4 separate regions of the Homo sapiens genome follow, and all the other regions are linked to region 1. The links are contacts of gene promoters, found by promoter capture Hi-C in blood cells and fetal thymus (Javierre and others, 2016). All regions are on one chromosome and are shown on one strand. The core of a region is centred on a gene start or on the middle of the fragment in contact, and the rest is flanking DNA. Distances in the headings are between cores, read along the strand shown. Region 1 holds the start of RNASEL (ribonuclease L). Region 2 has its middle 19 kb from the start of ZNF648. Region 3 has its middle 36 kb from the start of ZNF648. Region 4 has its middle 65 kb from the start of ZNF648.

Region 1 (2,624 bases), core at 72-2,571:
TTTAGTAGAGACGCGGTTTCACCATGTTGGCCAGGCTGGTCTTGAACTCCTGAACTCAGGTGATCTGCCTGCCTTGGCCTCCCAAAGTGCTGGGATTACAGGTGTGAGCCACCACGCCTGTCCAACAAGTATTAATTAAATGAATAATGGGTTAAGGATTTTTGAACTTTGTCCTGAAAATGATGGTGGGTCAATGATGCAGGGTGGAACAATGGATGAAGGGCTAGGAAGCAAGTCATCAATTTCTTGCTATAAATGATGACAAGGACTCGAATGGTCATCCCTTTGTAGATGAAAGCAAGAGACTTGGTGTTGGGATGAGGATGAGGGGTGGCCTCCGGGTGATGGTGCCATCTGTGGAGATGGAATAAGTGGGAGGAGGGGCAGATTTAGGAAAAGATGAGTATTTCCATTTGACACATATTCAAGATTTGTAGGTCTAAAGCTCAGCAGAGAGGCTGGGGTTAGAGAGCGAGGCCTGGGAATCCCTGGTGTATAAGGGGTGGTAGAGGCCCCGGGTCTGGATGGTGTGACACAGGTGGTCGTCAAGTGACCATGCACTACTTGTTGTTCACAAGTCCCAGGGCTTTGTCTCCCCAGCAAGACTGGGTATTCTTTGGGGATGGAAATACTTTCCACTACAGCACTAAGTACACAGTACACAGCTCATTGCTAGGAAGATAGTCAAGAACAGAACTTGTAGAGCAGAAAGGAACCTTCAAAACCAAGTTATAGGAGAGAACTGAGGCCCTACATGGTTAAATCACATGCCTGAGGTCACTCAGCTAAGCAGCCACAGAGCTGGCTGTAGGATCAGGTCTCCAGACTGCCAGTCCGGTACCCTTCTGAGAAGGCCGCACTGCCTCAGAGCTGTGAGTTGAGTGAGCTGAGAAAGGTGACAGGGCTTGGGCTTTGGGCTTACTTAGCTTCTATGAGCCTGCGTTTCATAATCAACAAGATTGTCAGGGGTTAACTGGGACCATGCTGCATGTAAAGCATTGTGTCTGGAACACAATAGGTGCTCAATATGTGTTTACTTTCCATTCCTTTCTTCCAAGAAGACCAGAATTTGCAATGACAAAGAAAGGATGCAAGAGTGATGGATGCAGTTGGCTGCTGCCACCTGAAAGGCTGCAAGACTGAGAGGTGAGTGACATGACCCCGGGCATCACATTCCTCATCAGCAGACAGAAAGTGGCTATTGCTTTCCTCCAGAAGGTGTGCAAGTAGAAGCTTTGCTCCTGGTGCCAGAGTGAGCCTGTGGCTGCTTTCCCTCCCACACTCCTCACTCCTTTCTTGGCTCCGCCCTGCTGACTCAGTGACGCAGCAGGAGGAAACTGCTCGGGCTGCAAGCAGTCTTCCAGGCTTTGCGGCTGCCAAAGGAATAATTGAGACGTCTGAGTTGAGCAGGTAAGGCAGGCAGAAGGAGGAAAGCTAGAAAACCTCGATAAGTCGATCCTGAAGAATTCTTGGGCTTTGGAGACTGGAGAGGCCAGGGGCTGGAGGACTTGGGAAGTGGGAGGGGAGCTCCCAGCCCTTGGCTGCCCGGAAGGATCTTCCTCCAGTGCCCTTCCAGAGTTCTGTCAGAGTCCACACGTCATTTATCCATGTCCTCAGTTTCTCAGGCATCTCTTTGCGACTTACTCAGGTCGCACAGAGAAAGTGAAATTGAAAGCAGGATTGTCTGTTGGAGTACTTCCGCAGGCTCGTCTCTTCTCTACTCTGATGCGTCACTCAGGGCTTCCTTGATATTTCCTCTCCTTCCCGGCTCCTTTGTTTATACCAGCCCACCTCACATCTGATTGTAATGGGGACGGTCTACACAAACACTTTGGTTCAAAGATTTCATTGCCTGGTGATCGTGTATGTGTTGCACAATTAATTAAACTTCTAAGAGGCTAATCAATTAACCTCTGAGGCTTTGAAACTGTCAGAGTGGTGAGATTGCTGAAAAAGGGTTGCTTCGTGAATTCTATAGCAGATGCAGTTATTTAAATATTCAGGTAACAGTTTCGGGCTGTCTGATGATTGAACTGGATCTGTAATTCTCAGATCTGATTGACAGTTGGACGAAATTGATAGCTGCCAGTTGCCTATTCGTGTAGTAGCTATATGCACATGTGTAGGGAGAATAGAATTCACTAAGCAATTTATTTTTTCATAACGGGATATAATTAGCTCTAACATTCATTGAGTGGCTAATATTTGCAACACTCCATACTTTAATGTACTTTACACACATGACTGTATTTATTTTTGTCTCCATTTCAGGAAATAGAAAATTGAGATTCAACAATCCAAGGTTACAGGAAGTAATAGTAAAAAATTACACAGCCACAAGCTCAAACTTAGATCTCCCTAAGGTCAGAGTACAAGCTCTTTTCACTACTGCAGATACTCCTTGACTTATGATGGGGTTACATACAGATAAACCCATCCTAAATTGAAAATATTGTAGGTCAAAAGCACATTTAATACACCTAATCTACTGAACGTCATAGCTTATCCTAGCTTACCTTAAATGTGCTCAGAACACTTACATTAGGCTACAGTTGGGCAAAATCATCTAGCTCAAAGCTTATTTTATAATAAAGTGTTAAATGTCTCATGTATTTATCGAATGC
Region 2 (2,624 bases), core at 66-2,565, 510 kb after region 1:
CATAGCATGTCCCGCAGGTCTGCTGTGGGACACTCACCCCTATAGCATCATCCCCATATCCTGCTACATTCCAGCCATCCTGACCAGCTCATGGCTCCCCACACTCTCTCAGTAGCCCCCACCCTCTCCTCATTAACTCCTGATCATCCTCAGGCCTCTGTTTAGCCATTTTCTGAAACTCTCCCACTGCCCACCGCCCACCTCCACTACCACCCCCACCCCCACCCCCACCCCCCCCCACCACCCCCACTATGGTTCATTTAATAGTTTCTCCTGTGTGCTCCCATGTGCTCTGGGTTTACCCCATTGAAGCCCTTAGGGCACTTTCAAACCATCTGCTCCCCTCTTTGCTTCATCTGACTGTAAACTAACTTGAAGATAGAAACTGTGTGTGGATTCCTATTGCTTCAGTGGCACCAAGCACAGCACCTGATTTAAAGAGGGTGTTCAGCAAGATTTCTTAAGGAAATGACACTCAACATGAGACTTAAGGGTTTGGGGTGGGGAAGAGGTACAATTTCAAGAAAGGAAAGAACATGGCAGCAAGTGCAAAGCCCCCAGGGTTGGAAAGAACTTGATATATCCAAGGAACATGCTAAGGACAGTGTGGCTGGAATGTAGAGAGGTAGCGGGCAGGTGGCAAAGGATTTGGTCTGGAAGGTTCAAAGCATGGTGGGAAGTAATTGAAACAGGTTACACTGGATAGAAACAATATCCTATATCCTCAACATCTTCTCTTCCCCTTTTTGCTCTCATGAAACATGGCTCTCTTCTGAGAATAGCTCCTTCTCAAGTGGAGGATTAATTTTCTCTTCCACATCCCTCCTACCACTAGGTGGGGCAAGTGTCTTCCTCACTCCTTTGCTATTTCAGACCATTCTTTCTCTCTTAAAGCTCCCCAGCTTTGAATAAGCAGCCTGTGGCATCCACCACTCCTCCATGAAGTCTCCCACAAACCCCAGAGGGCTTCCTCTCATTCCTTATATGGATCTCAGCACCTGGTTCACCATCATTTTCACCAACCCCACTTGTCATCATTCTAAGAACTACAACTCTGTGGAGCTGGCTTTTTGCTTCCCTGAGTCTGTGAGCTCCTCTTCTCCAAGGATCTTGTCCTTTACTGTATCAAATATGCAAATGGCCCAAATCTAAAGCTTGTCCTCAATAACAACTGCACTCCCTCTGCAGTCTCAATTTGGTGCAACTCCCTCTCTGGCCAGCACCTCCTTAAACTTCCCAGCTCGCTGCCCCTGAAATCCCACCACCACCCATCCTTCCACCCAGGGGAAGTCTGGCCCTTCCACCTTTTAACTCGTCCTGCTCCCCTCAGGCTCTCTCTCCGCATCTGACTTGGCTTCAATTCCATGCTTCATCACATTAGTCACTTCTTTTTCATAACCCCTCATCTTTATACCTTTCTTTAGTTTCGTTGTATTTGTCTGGCAAAACTCTAACAATGGTGAACTCCAAGCTTCTGCCCACACAGCCAACATGTTGGGGGAAAGCACACCATCTTCCTGGCTGGCCTAACTTCAATTCATGACCACTAACCTTGCATGGGCCTTTATTGCTACCTGGCAATTATGAACCCATTCACTCTGCAAATGAATATTTTATGCCTTTTTTCTTTTTAGACTTCCCACACTTCCTCCACTATCATCCATCTCAGCCAACGACCTTGCTTCTTATTTTGCTGAGAAAAAGCAACCCTAGCAAGAGTACTTCCTCAAGCTGCCACCTCCACATCTAGCCACACCCTGTGCCTGTGTCCATGACTTCCGCTCTCCTTTTGCTGTGGACCAGCTGCCTGTGCCGAAGCCACTCCTGTACAGGCCCTGAGTCCCATCCTCTCTTACTTTCCCAAGGACACAATCCTATTTCTCTATTCCCACATAATCACTCCTTGAATAATCTGTTTAGACTCACAGACTACAATTCCTCTCCTCCCTTAAATCTACTCCAATCAGGTTTGATCCCCATGTAGCTTAATTGGATGGCCAATTCTTAGTTCTCATTAATAGGAACTCTCAGTAGTGTTTGACATCATGTGGCACTCCCTTCTCCTTGAACCATTTTCTTCCCTTGATCTCCAGAATATCACAGACATCTGACTTCTCTTCAAACCTTTTGTCCACATCTTTTCACCTCTTTTGCTGGGCATTTCTCATCTCCCCTACTTATGAACATTGGACTGGTCCAGGGCTCAGTCCTCGAATCTCTTCACTGTATACGCTCCCTCGGTGACTCATAGAATCCGATGGCTTTAAGTGTAATCCACACGTTGATAATTCAAATTGTATTTTCTACCAAGATCCTCATCTTGAAATCCAGATGCCTCTCCAACTGTCGCATCAATGTTTCCAAGTGGAAACCTCATCCAAACTGAAGCTCCTGGACTTTCTCTCCTAAACTCTGTTTCTCCCACAGTCTTCCCCTGCTCACTTAATGGCAGCTCCATCCTTCTGGTTGTTCAGGCCAAAAACCTTAGAGTTGTCCTTGACTCCTCTCTTTCTCTCACACCCCATAGCCAATATATAACAAAATCATGTTAGCTCTAACTTTAAAACGTATCTAGAAATTGACCATTTCTCACCATTTGTGACAACTCTGGTCCAAGCCACCAT
Region 3 (2,624 bases), core at 62-2,561, 490 kb after region 1:
TCAAGCTGAATTAAAAGACTTAAATTAAATTTAAGACCTGAAACCATAAAAATTCTAGAAGGATATCTAGGAAAACCTCTCTGGACGTTGGCCTATGCAAAGAATTTATGACTAAGACCCCAAAAGCAAATGCAACAAAATAAACACAAAAATAAATAAATGGAACATAATTAAACTAAAAAGCTTTTGCACACCAAAATAAATAATCAACAGAGTAAATAGATAACCTATAGGATGGGAGAGAATATTGGCAAACTCTACATCTGACAAAGGACTAATATCCAGAATCCACAAGGAACTCAAACAAATCAGCAAAGGAAAAAAAAATCCCATTGAAAAGTGGGCAAATGACATGAACAAACATTTTTCAAAAGAAGATATACAAATGGCCAAATAACATGAAAAAATGCTTGATATTCCTAATCATCAGGGAAATGCAAATTAAACCATGATGAAATACCACCTTATCCCAATCAGAATAACTATTACTAAAAAGTCACAAAAGCAATAGATGTCAGTACGGATGTGGTGAAAAGGGAACGCTTATACACCATTGATGGCAATGTAAATTACTACAACCTCTATAGGAAACAGTACAGAGATTTCTCAAAGAACTAAAAGTAGATCTGCCATTCAATCCGGCAATCCCGCTGCTGGGTATCTACCTAAAGGAAGAGAAGTCATTATACCAAAAAGACACCTGCACATGTATGTTTATAACAGCACAATTCACACTTGCAAAGATATGGAATCAACCTAAGTATATACCAACTGGTGAGTGGATGAAGAAAATGTGTGTGTGTGTTTGTGTGTGTGTGTGTGTGTGTGTGACCTTTGGAAGCTTCATTCCTTACTGATTTCTTCATTAGCAAAGCAGCAAAAACCCTCATCACAGCGATTCCAATCCCATTACCATCATCATGTTCATTGCCAAAGTTATGAGCATTACATGACGAGCATTACTAACGTGTCCTCTATAATCCTTCTATGTGACACCAACTTCAATACTTACGAAATGCTTTTAACCAAATTAGAGCAAGGAGAACTTTAACATTTAGAGGGATAGATGTGTGGCCATCTCCTTTCACAAGGCAAAGTCATCACTCCTACATAGGTTCTCACAGATGGTCCACAGGCACGTTGGGTAGGACCCTAGTCAGTGTGAAAAGCTGAGCAAAGCAGAGCTTTTCTAAGCCCTCAAGTCTGGCAGGACTGCAGTACACAGGTATGCCTGATCATAGACTGCCACATGGTGGGATTTTACTCTTCCAATGTGTAAGTCTTTTCACCATTGAATTGTAGAATCATTGAAGACAGGACTTGCCACTCTTCCTTTTTATTTCTCCCTGGATACCTAGAACTAATTCTGGGTGTTCATTAAATTCTTGTCGATAGAACAATTCAACAGATATCCACGAAATGTTTATTGAATGGCTCCTGTGTGACAGGCACTGTGCTAAATAAACAGATGTTGTTTTAAAGGTCCAAGGAACTCCCCAGGTAGGTGTTTTCTATGACAACACTGTTATCAACTGCTTTCCAAAACACAGCCCATCAGATCTGGGTTTATCCCTAGAATAGCTGCATCCTTGAAGTGACGGGAGGGTGGCATTCTCTGCCTTCACAAATGCCAGCTCCAGCCCAGTGTCTACTGTGGGTTGGGCCAGTCCTTGTCCGAGTGAATCATGGTCTGCTGCTGAGCTCAACAGGCTAGAAGCAAGTTACTGCCACAAGTTGTATGGACCAGTAGGGCACCAAAGTCACTCAGAGACAAAGCTTAAGGCTGTTACTGGTTTACTGTGCATTGAATTGCTTTCTGAAATTCTGGTAGTGAGATTGAGGAGAAAGTGCAGTGGGAGGGATAGGGTGTTAGAAAAACAGGTAGGGAGAATCAAGCAAGGGGAGCATTTCAGAGTGACATCAAAACTGTGTCAAGTGTCTTCTTCAATGGTTGTAAAGGTCAGAGCAGCACTTACAAACTTTGTCCCCTTGATAAGGGGAATGAAACAGAAAACTTGAATGTGGTTATTTTATCATGCCTGTTCTTAGAAAACAATCCTAGAAATGCCTCCTGTTGGCCAGCCTGGTTCTTGACCCGCTTTCAGAGTTTCAACCTGTAGATACCTGAGCACACCCAAGCAGGTTCTATGCAGACAGAGCCATCTTCTGCATGTACTTTCTAGGAAACCAGGTATTCAGGGACAAGGTACAGCATCCTCTGAACCTGCACCAACATCCTGAAAGCTGATGCCAGGTCAGGATCTTGCTATGGTGACCACAGATTTCCTGGAAAGCTGTTGTCTTGCCTGCAGAATGCTGGCATAGTTGTTCTTCAGATAGCTCCTCTCTGGTCTCCTACTCCTCTCTTTATCCATGTCCCAGGGCAAAATGGCCATGCAGCTGAAGGCTGTAGGGACATTCAGTCTTTCCTATGACCATTTTCTGCCCACACTGATGACCTCCTTCTAGATCTCTGCAAGAATTCAGACCTTCCCTGAACCAGAAGTAATTGTGGCATTGGCAGAAAGCTGAATCTCTATACTCCAAATGCAATGGGAAAAAGGTCTTGTGGTACAGCAGCCACGGCTCCCTGAATCAGATTGGCTTTGGAGAGAGCCAGGGCC
Region 4 (2,624 bases), core at 70-2,569, 460 kb after region 1:
TTCTCATCACCCCTGCCACTCACTTGAGCCTCCCTCCATGGCTGCTGACTTCTTTCTTTTCTTTCCCTGGGTTTATTGCCCTTCTTGCTGCCTTCTCCACTTTGCTATTTGAAGATGATTGCTGATGGAGATCAGAAAATTTTACATCAGCACTTTGTATACACTGGAGGAAAGAAAATAGAGAAAGGGAAGATGCAGCCAGCCATTTCTCTGTTTTACCCGCAGGCCTGGACAGCAGCCTTTTCCACTTGCCTCCTCCGACCTGCAGTCTGAATTCCATTACCAGGACAGGGCTTGCCCCAGGGAGGGGACCTCCTTCTAGAGCATTCAATGAAGCTGCAAGTATGTTGGTGTCCACAGTCAGCAGAACCTCTCATGACCATTTATTACATACCTGGGATCCTCTTAGATCTGTCAAATAGGAATGGTACTGTGGAGCTGCACCAGCTGGCGTGTAGCCTCAACAGCCTAGGGTGCTGCCTAGGGAATAGAGGGGCTTAGAAAAAGAGGTGATTCCTCTACAGTGACACACCAGAGGCAAAACCGAGGCTCATTTCTACTTGTATTAATCTCTTTTTTTTTTTCCTGTAATCTGTATGATTGAAGGATTGAGAGGAGTATTCTGCATCTTTTTAAATGGCAAAATAAACTGTTCAGGTATCCACTGTTAAGGTAGAGGGGAATGTGGTGTTGCAAGAAGAAAATTGCCCTGCTAGCACAGATATGAGAAGACAACAACTCCCAGAGCATGCAGTCAGCACCATTACTTTCCCTTAACTCCCCAAGGTGCCCTCCTTGCATTTATCTTTCTCTCCTACATTGATCTTCACTGGAGAATAAAAATTAGAGACAGTGAGGAATTGCATGTGATTTGTACTGGGTTCCTGGATCCACGCCCTCCTTCCTAGCCCTGTTCCTCCAGGCTGGCTCCACTGTGGCCTTAATAAACAGAGGGTGGGGGGCTGATGAAGACATGCAGAGAAGACTTGACTGCAGTCTGTGGTGTGGGCTGGCCTGGGTACAAGTCAGCAGAGGCACATTCCATCAGTTGGCAATGTTATGAGCATAATAACTTCCTTAAGTGATACAGGTTGTAGTCTTGTAGCCTAAGTTCTACAGAGCTTCTTTAAAATGTTTTCTAAGCATGTTCAGCAATGGCAGTTTACTATTAGTAATATAAATCATAGACCAGTCACAATGTTGTTTCTTTTTAATATTCCCAATTTTCTTACACTAAGTCTCTGACCAATATCAAAAAAAAAGATTCTTCAATTCATATCATCCTAATCTAAATGAATAAGTCTATGAAAAATGGCTGTTTCCATATTAGCTTCTTTGGACTACTTTGGAGCAGTTTTGGTTTTCGACTCTAGCCCCTCTCTTCCATAAAGCAGCCCTGTTAAAAGACTCTGTTTTAGATCCCTGATTTTGGCTACTGGTGAGAACCATCAAGGGAAACAGCCAGCCCTCTGTGTCTGTCCCACCTACAGACCTGGACAGTGGCCTTCTCCACTTGCCTTCTCCGACCTGAAATCTGCATTCCATTCCAACACAGGGCCTGCCCCAGGGAGGGGACCTCCTTCTAGAGCATTCTTTCCTACAGTCCCTGATGTCTGTGTTCTGAGATAAAGCAAGGCTTGTACTCCATCCTCTTTGCCAAGTATCTGCTTATCACTAGGCAAGGCAAATATTATTGGATGTTTCAAATTACCACTAATCAAATTCCAGTGCAGTCCAAATCATCTGGTTAATCATTTTGAGCAGTCCTGGTATTGACAAGCCCTTGAAGGAGGTCAACAGCTTCAATGAGGATAAATATCAGCATGCCCTTTTGTACTGAATGTGTGAAATTGACATTCAAAGATATAAGCTCCACCAGGGTAGGAATTTTCATCTGCTTTTTCTCTAATCTATCCCCTAGATACACCTAGAATGCTACCAGAACACTACCCAGATGAGTGCCAGGGACATAGTAGGTATTCAAGAAATGATTCTTACTATTTTTTTTGCAATTTATTTAAATTTTATTGTATATATTTAAGGTGTGCAAGATGACATTTTGATGTACATAGTGAAATGGTTACTGTAGTCAAGCAAATTAACATATCCATCATCTCACATCATTACTCATTTTTGTGTGTGTGTGAGGCAAGAGCAACTAAAATCTCTTTTAGCAAAAATCCCCAATATAATACAATACTATTAGCTGTAGTCTTCATGCTGTACATTAGATCTCTATACTTGTTCATTCTACATATCTGCTGCTTTTTATATTTTGACCTATATCTCCCTATTTCCTTCCTCCCCAGCCCCTGCTCTTGTAATTACTTTTTTATTCTCTACCTCCGTATATTCAACTTAAAAAAATATTTCATATGTAAGTGAGATCATACAGTATTTCTCTTTCTGTGTTTAGTTATTTCACTTAGCATAATGCCCTCCAGGTTCATCCATGTTTTTACAAATGGCAGGATCTCATTCTTTTTTAGGCTGAATAGTATTCCATTGTGTATATGTACTACAGTTTCTTTAGCCATTCGTCTGTCAACAGACACTTTGATTATCCTGGCATTGCGAATAATGCTGCAATGAGTATGGGGGTGGATATATTTTCATCTCTTTCA

What was found. Contacts are between HindIII fragments. The CHiCAGO score rates a contact against its expected background, and 5 or more counts as called.
Region 2: a fragment that was not itself captured here is called in contact with the fragment with the promoter of RNASEL in region 1 in 5 of 17 cell types (erythroblasts, M0 macrophages, M1 macrophages and 2 more); the score reaches 11.6 in erythroblasts.
Region 3: a contact is called between a fragment that was not itself captured here and the fragment with the promoter of RNASEL in region 1, in 4 of 17 cell types (M1 macrophages, M2 macrophages, M0 macrophages and 1 more). The highest score is 6.7, in M1 macrophages.
Region 4: a fragment that was not itself captured here is called in contact with the fragment with the promoter of RNASEL in region 1 in 2 of 17 cell types (erythroblasts and M1 macrophages); the score reaches 7.5 in erythroblasts.

What each region holds. Positions count from the first base shown.
Region 1 is chr1:182,587,953-182,590,576 of GRCh38, reverse strand. It overlaps RNASEL (ribonuclease L), which reads left to right and starts at 1,321. Exons shown (of 7, transcript NM_021133.4): 1 at 1,321-1,410. RefSeq lists an enhancer at 1,446-1,605. The HindIII fragment of the contact is 1,344 bases long and covers 1,236-2,579 here.
Region 2 is chr1:182,079,378-182,082,001 of GRCh38, reverse strand. No RefSeq gene overlaps it. Among named protein-coding and RNA genes, the nearest start is that of ZNF648, 19 kb to the right of the region's middle. The HindIII fragment of the contact is 317 bases long and covers 1,157-1,473 here.
Region 3 is chr1:182,096,748-182,099,371 of GRCh38, reverse strand. No RefSeq gene overlaps it. Among named protein-coding and RNA genes, the nearest start is that of ZNF648, 36 kb to the right of the region's middle. The HindIII fragment of the contact is 935 bases long and covers 844-1,778 here.
Region 4 is chr1:182,125,529-182,128,152 of GRCh38, reverse strand. No RefSeq gene overlaps it. Among named protein-coding and RNA genes, the nearest start is that of ZNF648, 65 kb to the right of the region's middle. The HindIII fragment of the contact is 3,573 bases long and covers 1-2,624 here.